Regions from separate parts of the Homo sapiens genome. Here all the other regions are linked to region 1. Evidence: promoter capture Hi-C in human tissues and cell types (Jung and others, 2019). All regions are on one chromosome and are shown on one strand. The core of a region is centred on a gene start or on the middle of the fragment in contact, and the rest is flanking DNA. Distances in the headings are between cores, read along the strand shown.

Evidence for each region. The method cuts DNA at HindIII sites, captures the fragments that hold promoters and counts their contacts. A contact is called where the count stands out against the background at its distance.
Region 2: a fragment that was not itself captured here is called in contact with the fragment with the promoter of PLCB1 in region 1 in 4 of the 25 tissues and cell types used here (IMR-90 fibroblasts, aorta, lymphoblastoid cells and 1 more).
Region 3: a fragment that was not itself captured here is called in contact with the fragment with the promoter of PLCB1 in region 1 in 11 of the 25 tissues and cell types used here (H1 embryonic stem cells, IMR-90 fibroblasts, aorta and 8 more).
Region 4: a fragment that was not itself captured here is called in contact with the fragment with the promoter of PLCB1 in region 1 in 3 of the 25 tissues and cell types used here (H1 embryonic stem cells, dorsolateral prefrontal cortex and heart right ventricle).

Annotation. Positions count from the first base shown.
Region 1 is chr20:8,130,644-8,133,731 of GRCh38, reverse strand. It overlaps PLCB1 (phospholipase C beta 1), which reads right to left and starts at 1,466. Exons shown (of 32, transcript NM_015192.4): 1 at 982-1,466. The coding sequence starts at 1,080. RefSeq lists a silencer at 1,241-1,380. The HindIII fragment of the contact is 4,653 bases long and covers 1-3,088 here.
Region 2 is chr20:8,684,230-8,687,317 of GRCh38, reverse strand. PLCB1 (phospholipase C beta 1) reads right to left here. Exons shown (of 32, transcript NM_015192.4): 10 at 2,240-2,386. Among named protein-coding and RNA genes, the nearest start is that of RNU105B, 150 kb to the left of the region's middle. The HindIII fragment of the contact is 7,549 bases long and covers 1-3,088 here.
Region 3 is chr20:8,665,365-8,668,452 of GRCh38, reverse strand. The region is part of intron 9 of PLCB1 (phospholipase C beta 1); the gene reads right to left. Among named protein-coding and RNA genes, the nearest start is that of RNU105B, 160 kb to the left of the region's middle. The HindIII fragment of the contact is 3,580 bases long and covers 1-3,088 here.
Region 4 is chr20:8,648,217-8,651,304 of GRCh38, reverse strand. It overlaps PLCB1 (phospholipase C beta 1), which reads right to left. Exons shown (of 32, transcript NM_015192.4): 7 at 1,856-1,931. All of the region lies in intron 1 of LOC105372521 (a long non-coding RNA gene), which reads left to right. Among named protein-coding and RNA genes, the nearest start is that of RNU105B, 180 kb to the left of the region's middle. The HindIII fragment of the contact is 8,659 bases long and covers 1-3,088 here.

The DNA of each region.
Region 1 (3,088 bases), core at 217-2,716:
GTTTTTCTTATCGAACCTTTAGAATGACACCCAGGACATAAAACTGATACCATAATGTTCTCCATCCGAAGATTCGCATGTTTTCAGCTGGATAACTAATTTACGTGTTTTGAAGACAACTGGGGTAGAGGGGAAGGGGAAGTCATTTGAAGTCCTGGGGTCTGGGCCGCTCGTAAAGCATTAGAGACCCCGGCGCTGGGCTAGGCTCTGCCCTACCTGGCAAACGGTGCAGGTAAATCGTGGGGCAAACTCTCAACCTGTCTATTTCAGGCAGAAGACTCCAATCAGCTCAGTTCTCAAAAGTCAGCCCTCCCCACTTGCCTGCAGGCCCATGAGCCCTCCAGGACCCCTCAAGGGCCCCCATTCTGTTCACGCCCTCCCCAGATGTGTCCCCGCAGCCCTTTTCAGGGACCCTCACTCCGGAGCCAGGCGCTGAAGTTTGGCATCAACGACCACCTGTTGGCTGGACCGTTGTGTCCTCCGCCGCCTTGGCTCCCACAAAAGCGCCAAGAGGGTTCGCAATCACTAAAGTGTTTTGAACTTCAGGTCCTTCCTTCTTGAAATCGGGCAAAAGAGGTAATAGGGGGTGCGTCCGCAGGCGGAGAGGGACGCGATTTGTTCACACCAGGCGCTTTCCAGTTGGTCCCAACTTCACACTCCCTACTTTCCGAACTCTCAGGACCTGTCACCAGGCAAAGCTTGCCCCTCCCTCTCCACTGGCCCAAAAGATGTAAGACCCTCAGGGGGCGCCTGCCAGACCCAGAAAGGATGGCAACTACTGAAGCCCGATGAAACAGGAGCGCGCGCAAAGCTTCTGCCCTTGGACATCCGCTTTGGCAGATGCCAACCTGTGCGCCCGAGGCTGCCCCTGCCCGCTCCCAGTGCGCCCATTGCATAACGCGCCCCTTGCCCCACCCCCACGACGCCCGCCCTGCCCGGTGCCCGAGCCAGCGCCCCGACTCGGGCCGCCCCAATACTTACATCATCCCACTTGACGAATTTGGTGCCCTTCTTGAGGCTGTCGGACACGCACACGGGCTTGAGTTGCAAGGCGTGCACTCCGGGTTGAGCCCCGGCCATCTGGGCTCATCTGGGCTCCGGGCGGCCCGGGCGAGCGCGGCAGGGACTGGGGACCGTGCGCGGGGCGCGGGGCGCGGGGCGCGGGCTCCTTTCTCTGCTCCGGAGGCGCTCGACTCTGCTCCCCGCCGGCCTCCCCGGCCTCCCGGCCTCCGCACCTCCCTCCGGCGCCGCTCAGCAGGCAGAGCGCGCGGGGGCGCAGCGCCCGGCCATGCCCCGGGCGGGACGCGAGGTCTGGAGCCCGCGGTGGATGAGGAGCCTCGGAAGGCGAAGAGAAGCCGAGCCGGTCAGCCGAGGCTGCCAGTCGCGGCGGATTCTGCTCCTCCGCCGCCGCCGCCTCAAAGCGCACCATTCAGCACATCCTCTATACACAGAGGGAGAGAGCGAGTGACACACGCCCGGCGCCCCCCCTAACCGCTCTTTTCCCTCCTCCCTCCTCCTCCCCCCCGCCCCCCTTCCCCGCCACCCTCGCTCGCTGGGTCCTTCCTTCCCCCCGCGGCTCCCAGCCCAACTTTGCACGCTGGGTCAGGCGCCAGGAAGCGGGGACGCAGCGGCACCTCCTGGCTCCCGAGCCCCATTGCAGCCAACGCCTGCCTCCCGCATTCGCTCTGAGCATGCCCCGTGCCCTGGTTGCAGAGGTGCTAGGGGTCCCCAGGAGCCTTACGCTCTTTGGGGTTTTCTTGGGAATTTGGGCTCGAGCTCCGGAGCGTCTTTGGATCCCAACTGGCTGGGAAAAGGGGCCCATCGGGAGGAACCAAAGAGGCAACCCCTGGCTTTTGGCTCTAGCTGGAGCTCTCCAGCGCCAGCCACAAACCAGCTTTTTGAAGAGAATTATCATTTATCAGCAGAGAAGAGCGCAGTTGAGAGGCTCTTTGAGGAAACCTGGCCGCGCCTGAGAGTTTGCAGCGCGCTGATCTTGAAACCCGGGCAAACGGTTACGTTGTGCTTTCGAGACAGAAAGCCCATCCTAAAGAAAGCAAAGGTTTTATTTTCCGAGGAAGAAAGAGGGTGCCCTCTCCCGCTCCTCTCCTTGAGTGTGTAGGATGTGTGGCGGGTGGGGGAGAGTCTTATTAATAGAAACTTGCTCATTTAGGAACATAGGTCCAGGAATGTTTGTCTTCACTCCTTCCACAAACATTTCTCAATTCAAGAAAGAAAGGGAGGGAGGGAGGGAAGAAGGGAAAGAGGAGGACCAGAATGGATAAAATTTTAAAGACTGGTAATACCAAATGCTTGAAAGGATGTGGAGCAACTGGAACTCTTTTTTTTTTTTTATTAAGGAGAGAGAGGAGAGGGAGAGAGAGAGTGAGTGAGTGTGAGAGAGAGAAAGAGAGAGAGAGAGAGACACACGCGGGAGGTGGGGGGGCGGAGAGAGAAATAGCTTGGAACTCTTGTTCATTGCTGGAGGGAATATAAAATAGTAAAACCACTTTGGAGAATAGTTTCTTATAAAGTAAGATATTTACTTATCATACAACCTAGAAATTCCACTCCTAAGTATTTGTCCAAAAGAAATGAAAACGTTCAAGTCTGCAGGGACTTGTAAAGTGATGTGAAGAACTTTCTTCTTAGTAGCCTGCAAATGTCAATCAACAGGTGAATGGATAAACAAACTGTGGTATGCCCAAATATTGGAATACTATTCCACAATAAAAATGAGTGGGCATGCAAGATCAGGGATGAATCGCGACTTTAAGCTTTGTAAAAGAAGCCGGACACGATAGACTGTATGCTGCCTGATTCCATGTGTAGGAATTGCAGAATAGGCAAGATATTCTATGTTGACAGAAAGCTTGCCTGTGGCCAGGGATAGGTAGAGATGGACAGGGAAGGGCTACGAGCACCTGATGAGCATGTCGGAAATGTTCTATATCGTGTGTGTGTTTATCAAAACTTGTAAGTTCTGTAAGTACGCCTAAATTGAGTGCAGTTTGTTTTAAATAAATTATATCTCAAAAAGGTTGATTTTTAAAAAGAAGAAAGAATACGAAGAGAGAAAAATGGAGAGAAA
Region 2 (3,088 bases), core at 290-2,789, 550 kb before region 1:
CACAGTGGCTCATGTCGTTAATCCCAGGACTTTGGGAGGCTGAGGCAGAAGGATTGCTTGAGCTCAGGAGTCTGAGTCCAGCCTGGGCAACATAGTGAGACCTTGTCTTTACAAGAAATAAAAAATTAGCCAGGTGTGGTGGCACGTGCCTGTAGTTTCAGCTACTCAGGAGGCTGAGGTGGGAGGATTGCTTGAGCCCAGGAGATCGGGACTACAGTGAGCTATCATCATGCCACTGTGCTCCAGCCTGGGCAACAGAGTGAGGCCCTGTCTCAAGAATAATAATAATAATAATAATTTAAATTGGTAGGTAGAAGTAGAAATATTTATGTGAACTCGTGCCTTAAAAAGACAAAAAAAAATTATCTTTTCTTCCTTTGTTCACTGAAACAGTCCAGGCAATGTTCAGGGTCCAAATTGCTGTTACTCATACTTTTTCTTTCCCATCAAAAAGAACCAGGGCTCACTGGAGAATAGTCTGTTTCCATCTCTGGAGCAGAAAGGAATAAGGTGAGTCTGGAAGATCTCTATGTGCCAGAACACTTTCAAAGATTAATAGGTCATGTCAAGAGGACACAGATGATAGCCTAAAAATGTCTCCTACTAACCAAAGTTGAGACAATTTGGTCTCTCAAAAGGAGAATGGCAGCCGCGATTGAATGAACATACATAAAATCTGAAAACCCTAGTGATAGTCAGAAAGGGAAAAATTAATATACTCTGAAAGAAGGTGAAAAAATAAAATGTATATCCAATCAGTCTTGTCATTCAATCATTTTGGTATTACTGACTCATTTATTATATGACAAATAAAATAGAATGTAATGAATATAAATATATCAGTTGGAAGGTATTTTGGACTCAAAAGATTATTCGTAAAAAATCTACTCTATATTGTGACTTCCACTTAAACAAAATCACACACAATACCCAAAATTCAACCGGACATATATTTAAGTATTTTTGAGTTTTGTGGTCCTAAATATAGGATAAATGTAAGATTCTATAATGTGCTCAGATTTTAAAAATTATACTTCTTTGAATTTTATCATGTCAAAGATCTAGACTGTTAAAGTGATATTCCATGAACCTCCTTGAACTTGGATGAGAAAGAATGGTTACAGTTTTAATTTTAACCTCTACACAAAATTTAACATTCTCTTCAGTTAAGTATGTAGTTTACAAGTCACTAGCAAGATCTGTGTATTATATTCCAATTGTTGCAAATTATCACAACATTTTACTTATACTTATTTAAATTGTGTTAATACTGAGATACACAAGGTTATATATCATAACATTTTATAAAAATATTTCAATGAAATTTATTTCCTCTTTAATTCTAGGTACTTAATTTATGCATTTAGCATTCTGAGAAGGGTGCATACACTTCACCAGACTGCCAAATAGGTCAAGGCTTAATTTAAGATCAGATTAGAAACACATTGATGTTTTATCCTACTTTATTATAATATTTACAATAAAGTATAAGTTGTCATTCACAGGTCAATTTGTTTTTGTCTAAAGCCCTGTCCTACCTTGAACAAAAAGCAATTACTTAATTCTTTTTTTTTTCTTTTGAGACAAAGTTTCATTCTTGTCACCCAGGTTGGGGTGCAGTGGTGTGATCTCGGCTCACTGTAACCTCCACCTCTTGGGTTCAGGTGATTCTCCTGCCTCAGCCTCCCAAGTAGCTGGGTTTACAGGCACGCACCACCACGCCTGGCTGATTTTTTTTTTTTTTTTTGTATTTTTAGTAGAGACAGGGGTTTCGCCATATTGAACAGGCTGGTCTCGAACTCCTGACCTCAGGTGATCCGCCCGCCTCGCCGTCCCAAAGTGCTGGGATTACAAGCATGAGCCACCACTTAAGAACTTCGGAGCTGTCATGTAGATGAACACAGCCCAGAGAACCGGGTAGGACTGGACATGGCTTCAAGTACACTGAAGAATGAGTTCAGTTACACAAAAATCCCATTGATCTGAAAATGTCAGCCGTGGTTGCATTTTAGAAGACTTAAAAACTTAGGCTGTGGAGAAATGATGCTATTGCTTCATACACATGTGGACATGACTGCTTATGGGAGGCGGGAGGCTTTAGTGGTGGAACCCCAGAGTTCTCAGAGGCACTTCGCAGGAAATGGAAGAAAACACACTTCAGCTTCCGAACAACAGAAAGTAGAGGTTGGTGAAATTTGGTGAGACTGGCTAAAGTAACAAAGAACTAGAAAATTCATACCTGTGAGGTAGGTGTTGTGCGAGGAATTAATGAAATAGTGAGAAAGGGGCTGAGACATGTCTTCATTCAAATCCAGTTTCTCAGGTGAAACGACTCCGTTTTCTTCTCCACTCAGATAGCGCATGAACCCATCCACTGATATTTGTCCTGGAGGAAATGAAGTTAGAAAGGATGTGAATGCATTCTTTTATGGGTGTCAAGTCGCCTCTTTTTTTTTTTTTTTCCAGAAATATCTTGTAGTGTCCAAGGTAGAAGACATTTTAGTATGGATAAATAAGAGTGTAGGATTATTCTGTTTCACTACAATTATTTCCAAATGTCACAGACAATAGAGAAAACATGTAGTTACATGAGCCCCACCAAATTTTCAGAGGATTTAAATAAACACCAACCTCCTGTTTTCCAATGTAAGACTGGTATTAACTTTATGGATCGGCACTAAAATGTTATCAGTGCTTATCTCTGTGTAATAGAATTTGGGGTAATTTTTCAATTTTTTTTCTTATTAATGTATGTTACTTTATAATCAAAATTATGTACAAGTGGCCTGTAATCCCAGCACTTTGGGAGGCTGAGGCGTGTGGATCACTTGAGGTCAGGAGCTCGAGACCAGCCTGGCCAATATGGCGAAGTCTCCTCTCTACCCAAAACACAAAAATTAACCCGGGCATGGTGGGCGCCTGTAATCCAGCTACTCAGGAGGCTGAGGCAGGAGAATCGCTTGCACCCAGGAGGTGGAGGTTGCATTGAGCCGAGATGGCGCCACTGCACTCCAGCCTGGGCGACAGAGCGAGACTCCTTCTCAAAATAAAAATAAATAAATAAATAAATAAATAAATAAATAAATAA
Region 3 (3,088 bases), core at 162-2,661, 530 kb before region 1:
AGGTAGAATGCTTAGGTAAGAAGCTTGATTTTGTCCATCATTCTCAATTAACTCTCCTGTTAAAATAATGCTATCCCTAGCTTGGAGATAATCTTTGCTGTCACAGCTGGCATCCTAGAGACTGTAGTGATTCAGAGTTAAGACAGACCTTCCAGAATCTCCATAAGAGATTTTTGAAATCCTTGGTCACTGTCCACTTCCTGGCAGGATTCCCTACTATGGTACATTTTTCAGCTTTTCTATTAAGGGTTAGGGTGGAAGGTCCATCCCTCACTTAATCTGGTTTCCCTGTGGTTTGCTTTTTTTTTTTCTGCATTCGACCTATTTCCCTCCCACTTATCTGTTGTATCACATTGACTATTGACAAGACCCTGGATAATGCCGAAGTTAGGAGCCAAACGCCTGTGGCCTCTCTCCCTCCCAACACAGTACAACCTGCCAGGCAGTTTTGACTGAGCCAGAGTCCCCTCCACCCCACCCCACACGCACTGCAACCTGCTCCTAGACCCTGCTGACAAGGGGAAAGCTATACTAGCCAACAATTGTCAATGCTGTGTTCTGCTGGGAGGTCACATCTAGGGGGAAAGAAGCCATTCTCTGCTCTGTCCCAATAGCTCTCCCATGAAATGGCAAGGCACCTCTGAAAGGTGTGATGAAGGAAAGAAGTTTTAACAAGACTCAGCAGACTATGGGGTTGATGAGGCTACCAAGCTCACTTATCTATCCTGTGGACTGGCATTTGATTTTGCCTTTTACTGTTTATATTTTTCCTGTCTGGTTATTTTCTGAACAAAGGACATTTCAGCTGTGAGTAGACAGGGCTGTGACTTTCTGGCCAGAGCTGTGGGCCTGAGCAGACACTGAGGTCACTGAAATAAAGGAGAAAAGAAACAGAATTCCTAGGCCAGGCCTTTGCCTTTCCTCAGGCCCAGGCCCTGCCTTCTGGGAATAAAGGAAATGTAATAACGGAAAGGAAAGCAAAGGGAGTTGCCAAGTCAACCAATGAACAATAGATCCACAATGACGATCTTGAAAAATTTTTTTTTCATTCTTAGGCAATCTGAAATATTTCAGAGAAGTCTATGAACATACCAAACATGAAGTTAAGAAGAACTTGGAATGCACTCAGGGACGACAATGCCATTTTTCTGTAACCTTCCGCAGAGGTTAGAGAGTCAATAGGAGGAATTTAAATGAGATTTCGATCAATAAAATCCTAGAGTAGCTTTTCAGCAGCTTTTTCAGTGTAGTAACTTAATTAAGGCATGAAAGCATTGGCTACATCATATAGTTTTCCTCTGTTTTTGTCTTTTGGGAGAAAATTGATCTTATTTGTGTTGACTTTGTTGATTCACGTCGGTTCTGTTTCCTCAACTACTTTGTAGGTAATCTATATAAAATGACTTAAATGGATGCCACCTTAATTGTGAGGCAGATCTTTAAACTAGTCAGTATTTCCTTCAGAGGAGTGGTTTTTAAACTGAGTATCCTGAATATCCCTGGGTTTGGGCAGACATCCCTGCAGAGAATGGGGTAGGTCAGGAGGAGAAAGAGTGATAGGGCAACAGCCACCATCACCTGTACTCCAGGCTCCCCTCTATTCCACCAAGACAGCACCTTTAAAGCTTTTCCCTACACATTGGCCTTTCTCACGAGACTTTGTTAGAAGAAACAAACAAAGGGTGCTATGTCTAGGACCAGCTTGGAAACCACTGCTATAGACATCGATCACTAACTTCTAAATGGTCTGTGTTGCAACTTTTTTCTAAGCAAGTCCTGTTGGAGTGCCTAGGTGGATGTCTGGAGTAGCGGGACAAAGAAAACATGGTCTTGGTCCCAACATTGCCATTTCTGCAAACTGCCTCTTCTAATAAACTGACAGTTTGACTAAGCTAAATGGCTAAGTCCTTTGTAGACTGGAAATCTATGATTGGAGGCCACTGGCCAGGGCTTCGTGATTGGAAACAACGAAGACAATAACGTGATAGGTTGGCAGGAATGATGAGGCACAGCCTCTTTCCATTTTTTTTTCTCTCAATGCTCAGCAACTCTGACCTTACCCATCTTTCACTTTTGATTCCCTTAAGGCCATTTATAGAAAAGTGCTTGTCTTAGTTTGGGTTCTTCCAAAAACAGGATCTGAGACAAGGATTTGAGTGCAAGCACCTTTTTTGGGAGTTGACCCTATGAAACAACAGTAGAGAAGAGAAGTGAGACAAGAAGGAAAGGCAGCTAAGAAGGAGAAGGGTATCAGGCAGGTTACAGCTGTGGGCAGTTAGGGCTCAGTCTCACCGAGGAACTCTGGGAGAAAGCAGAGAACACACATCAGAACTTTGCAACCCAAGGGGCATGGAAGATAAGGTATTTATTCTTCAACTACTCCTGAGGCATGCAGTCCCTGGGAATTGTAGCCTGGCTGTGGATGGACTGATAGAAGGCCCTGAAGAGTTGCCAAGTGTGTAGGTGGCTGGGTTGGAACCATGATTGCCAAGGGACATGGGAATAGCACAGGTGTCTGCTACATTGCTGGTCTCATCCCATTTTACAGATGAAGAACCTGAAGCTCACACAAGTCAAGTCTCTTGCCTGAGGTTTACTGGCTTCATCATGACACTATGCCAGCCTATTTCTTTAATTAGGGCATGTTTGATCTTTCAAGGATGGAGAATAGAGATTATAATCATCACCATCATTAGTTTTTATAACTTCTACCTAGTAAAGCGAAATGGTGCTGGAAAAATATGATTCAAAAAATTTACTAGGAAATTGAAGTGATAATGAAGTAAATAGTAAGAGTCAAGTGTACATCCTTACACTTATGACTATAATTATAATTCCATTTTAATAAAAAGGTATAGAAAAGAATGATTGAGTCAGAAAGGACCATTTGTGCACAGATGTGACATGCCATATTTTTTTCAAGTTTCATTAATAAATTATTATACTTATCCTTAATTGCAGTACATTAAATAAGGCTGTTAGATGAGAAACAGCAATGTTCAGGAATGCCTCAGCCCAAGGCTCTGAGTCTCACTTCTAGACTCATAAATGTTTTAAAATAATTTGGCATAAATGCCAATGATCACTT
Region 4 (3,088 bases), core at 272-2,771, 520 kb before region 1:
CTGATAAATTTAACCATAGCACTCAATACTTTTATAATTCAATCATAAGTCTAAGAATGGCTTTGCAAACTTATTCAGTGCAACTTGAACATTGCTGGCACATTTTGAGGGGCTCAAAGGTTCTTCCTATAAAGTCATGTTACCCTTAGGTAAAGGCTTCCTTGTTGCTTAGATACTCAGATAAAAATAATGAAAGGAGAGCTCTGCACGAGAAAAAAATTTTATGCAATGGACTTCCAGAAACAATAGTAACAAATCATTTTAGAGCCAGTCATGTAGAAATGAATCAAAATGAAAGCAAATTATTTTATTTGAGGTGGTTAATGTATATGATGTACCTTGTGTGTGTCAGGCATAAAAATGAAAGCATGTTACATGCTTGTCCTCTCACCTACTTTACCACCGTATGAGCAAAGTAGGTGTTTAGATCCAAACTGTTTAGATCCTGCACCCCCTCAGTAAAAACTTTCTGAGCACAGCTCTGTAAAGTATGTAAATATATTTATTTATAAGCACATAGCAGCATACTAATTGCTTACATAGCTTATACATCTTAAAACTAAACATTTTAAAATGCTAAGGTGAGATGAAATTAATATTTCAAATATCTTCCTAAACATAACGGCTTCACACTGATCCAGGGCTGGAAAGCCCCAAAGTAGGGCTTAGCCTGCGAGGGTTCTTGGCTTCACTCAGGAAAGAATTCAAGGACGAGCCAGTGGTAGGGTAGAAGAAAATAACTTTACTGAGGCAGCAGTGTTACAGCTCCATGCCTGTTCCCGCAGAGCAGGGCTACTCCATAGGCAGTGTGCTCAGAGTAGCAGCTCAGGCAGTTTTGAGGTTGTATTTATACTTACTTTTAATCACATGTAGATTAAGGGGTGGTTAATACAGAAATTTCTATGATAGGAGTGGCAATTTTTGGGTCATTGGATCATTACCGTGGAAAGCGGTGGTAATTCCTCGGTGTTGCCCTGGCAATGGTAAACTGACATGGACATATCTTATGGAAAGCTGCTTCCGCTCCCCCTGTTTTAGCTGGTCCTTAATTTGGTCCGGTGTTCATACCCCACCACCAGAGTTGAGTCTCGCCTCCTAACTCAACACTATCATTAGCTAATATCTTAAAAAAAACATCAAGAAGGGTTTATTGTTAATAAGTTTGAAACCACATTTCAAATTGTCATCTTGATAATGTTAGCCTTTTTTGACTATTTTAAAAATATTACCTGATTAGGTGACTTTTTTATCTACAAAAAGCAAGGGTCATTCTAGATTGAAATACTGGGGTTATAGGAGTGAAAAGAGGCCTCACCAAGTCTTGGCTGTTTCTAGCTAGCTCTATAAACTTTTTTCAGCCTCTGTTCATTACCCAGTTCCAAAGCTGCTTCTACATTTTCAGATATTTGTTATCAGCAAAAACCCCACCTCTTGGTACCAATTTTCAGTCTTACTCTGTTTTCTGATGCATATAGCAGAATACTTGAAACTGTATAATATATAGGAATCAAAATGTATTTCCTACAGTTACAAAGGCTGGGAAGTCCAAGGTGGAGAGGGCACATCTGGCAAAAGTCTTCTTGCTAGTGGGGACTCTCCACTTTGGCAGAGGTGGCACAGGGAATCAGATGGTGAGGGGGAAGAACATGCTAGCTCAGGTCTGTTTTTCTCTTCTTATAAAGCCACCAGTTCCTCTCCGATGATAATCCATTAATTCATTAACCCATTAATCATGGAAGCTCTTAATTTCCTCTTAAAGGCCCTACCTCTCAAAACTGTCATATTGGGGATTAAGTTTCAACATGAGTTTTGGAGGGGCTGAACATTCAAACTATAGCATAACACACATGCTCACCCTTGAAGATGGAAGACTACAAGCCTCTAAAGCAGTTTCAACTCGCTTCCGATCTGCTGAAAACAAGCGATATATGCTGTGAAGTGAACACAACAAAGGAGAGAGGTTTAAATGGCACATGGATCACAGCACTAACAGATGATGCCAACTCAAAATATTCCATTCAGTCAAATCTATTTATTATTCATATTTAAAGAACTAAAAGATAACCATTCCTCCATGCATTTGCATCTGTCTTCTGAAAGATCAACTGCGTGCTTTTAAAATTAAGGTGTCTAGTATAAAATCAGTATTTTAGGATTATGGTGCTGACCCAATTAAAAAATATTGCATTAAATAATCTCTAATATTAAGCACTAAAATAAACATCCTTATTAATTCTGTCCCCTTGCTGCTACTACCCATTGCCCCAAGGTGTACATTGCATTATTAATAAATTTAATTTTTAATTTGTTTACTTTTAAATTAATTTCTTTTCTTTTCTTTCTTTCTTTCTTTTTTTTTTTTTAGAGACAGGGTCTCACATTGTTGCCCAGGCTGGAGTGCAGTGGCATGATCCCAGCTTACTGCAGTCTCCACTTCCCATGCTCAAGTGATCCTCCCACCTCAGCCTCCCTAGTAGTTAGAACTACAGGCATGTGCCACCACACCTGGCTAATTTTTAAAAATTTTTGCAAAGATAGAGTCTCACTATGTTGCCTAGGCTGCTCTCAAAATCCTGGCCTTAAGCAATCCTTCTGCCTTGGCCTTTCAAAGTGCTGGGATTACAGGCATGAGCCACTGTGCTTGGCTTAATTTGTGTATTCGCAGAAGCTTTCTAGTAGCTTGTAAGTCAAAAGTTAAAGACTTTTGGCTGGATATGACCTAGAGATGGACTTTTTTTCGTTACTAATTTGATTTAAAAATAGAACTTAAGTACTGGACAATTTAATATACTAATTTAGGTTTATGGGTTCTATAAAGACATTAGACAATCTAGTGTCAGGTGCTCACCAGTCCCACAGGATATATGGTGGAGATGAGCTGTTGTCTCCTTTAGACAGGGTTTGCTCTTTAGTTTTTCCTCCTCCTCCTGACCTGTTTCATCATTTACATTCCCTGCCTGGCTCCAGTTAGCATCTGAGGTTGCAAACCCTGCTTGAGGGCTACAGCCATCTTGGTAGAAAGAGGCACTGAGGTCGGCCAATTTCCACTCCTAGAACAGATCTGAATCTCAGATGGCCTTTCGGCCTT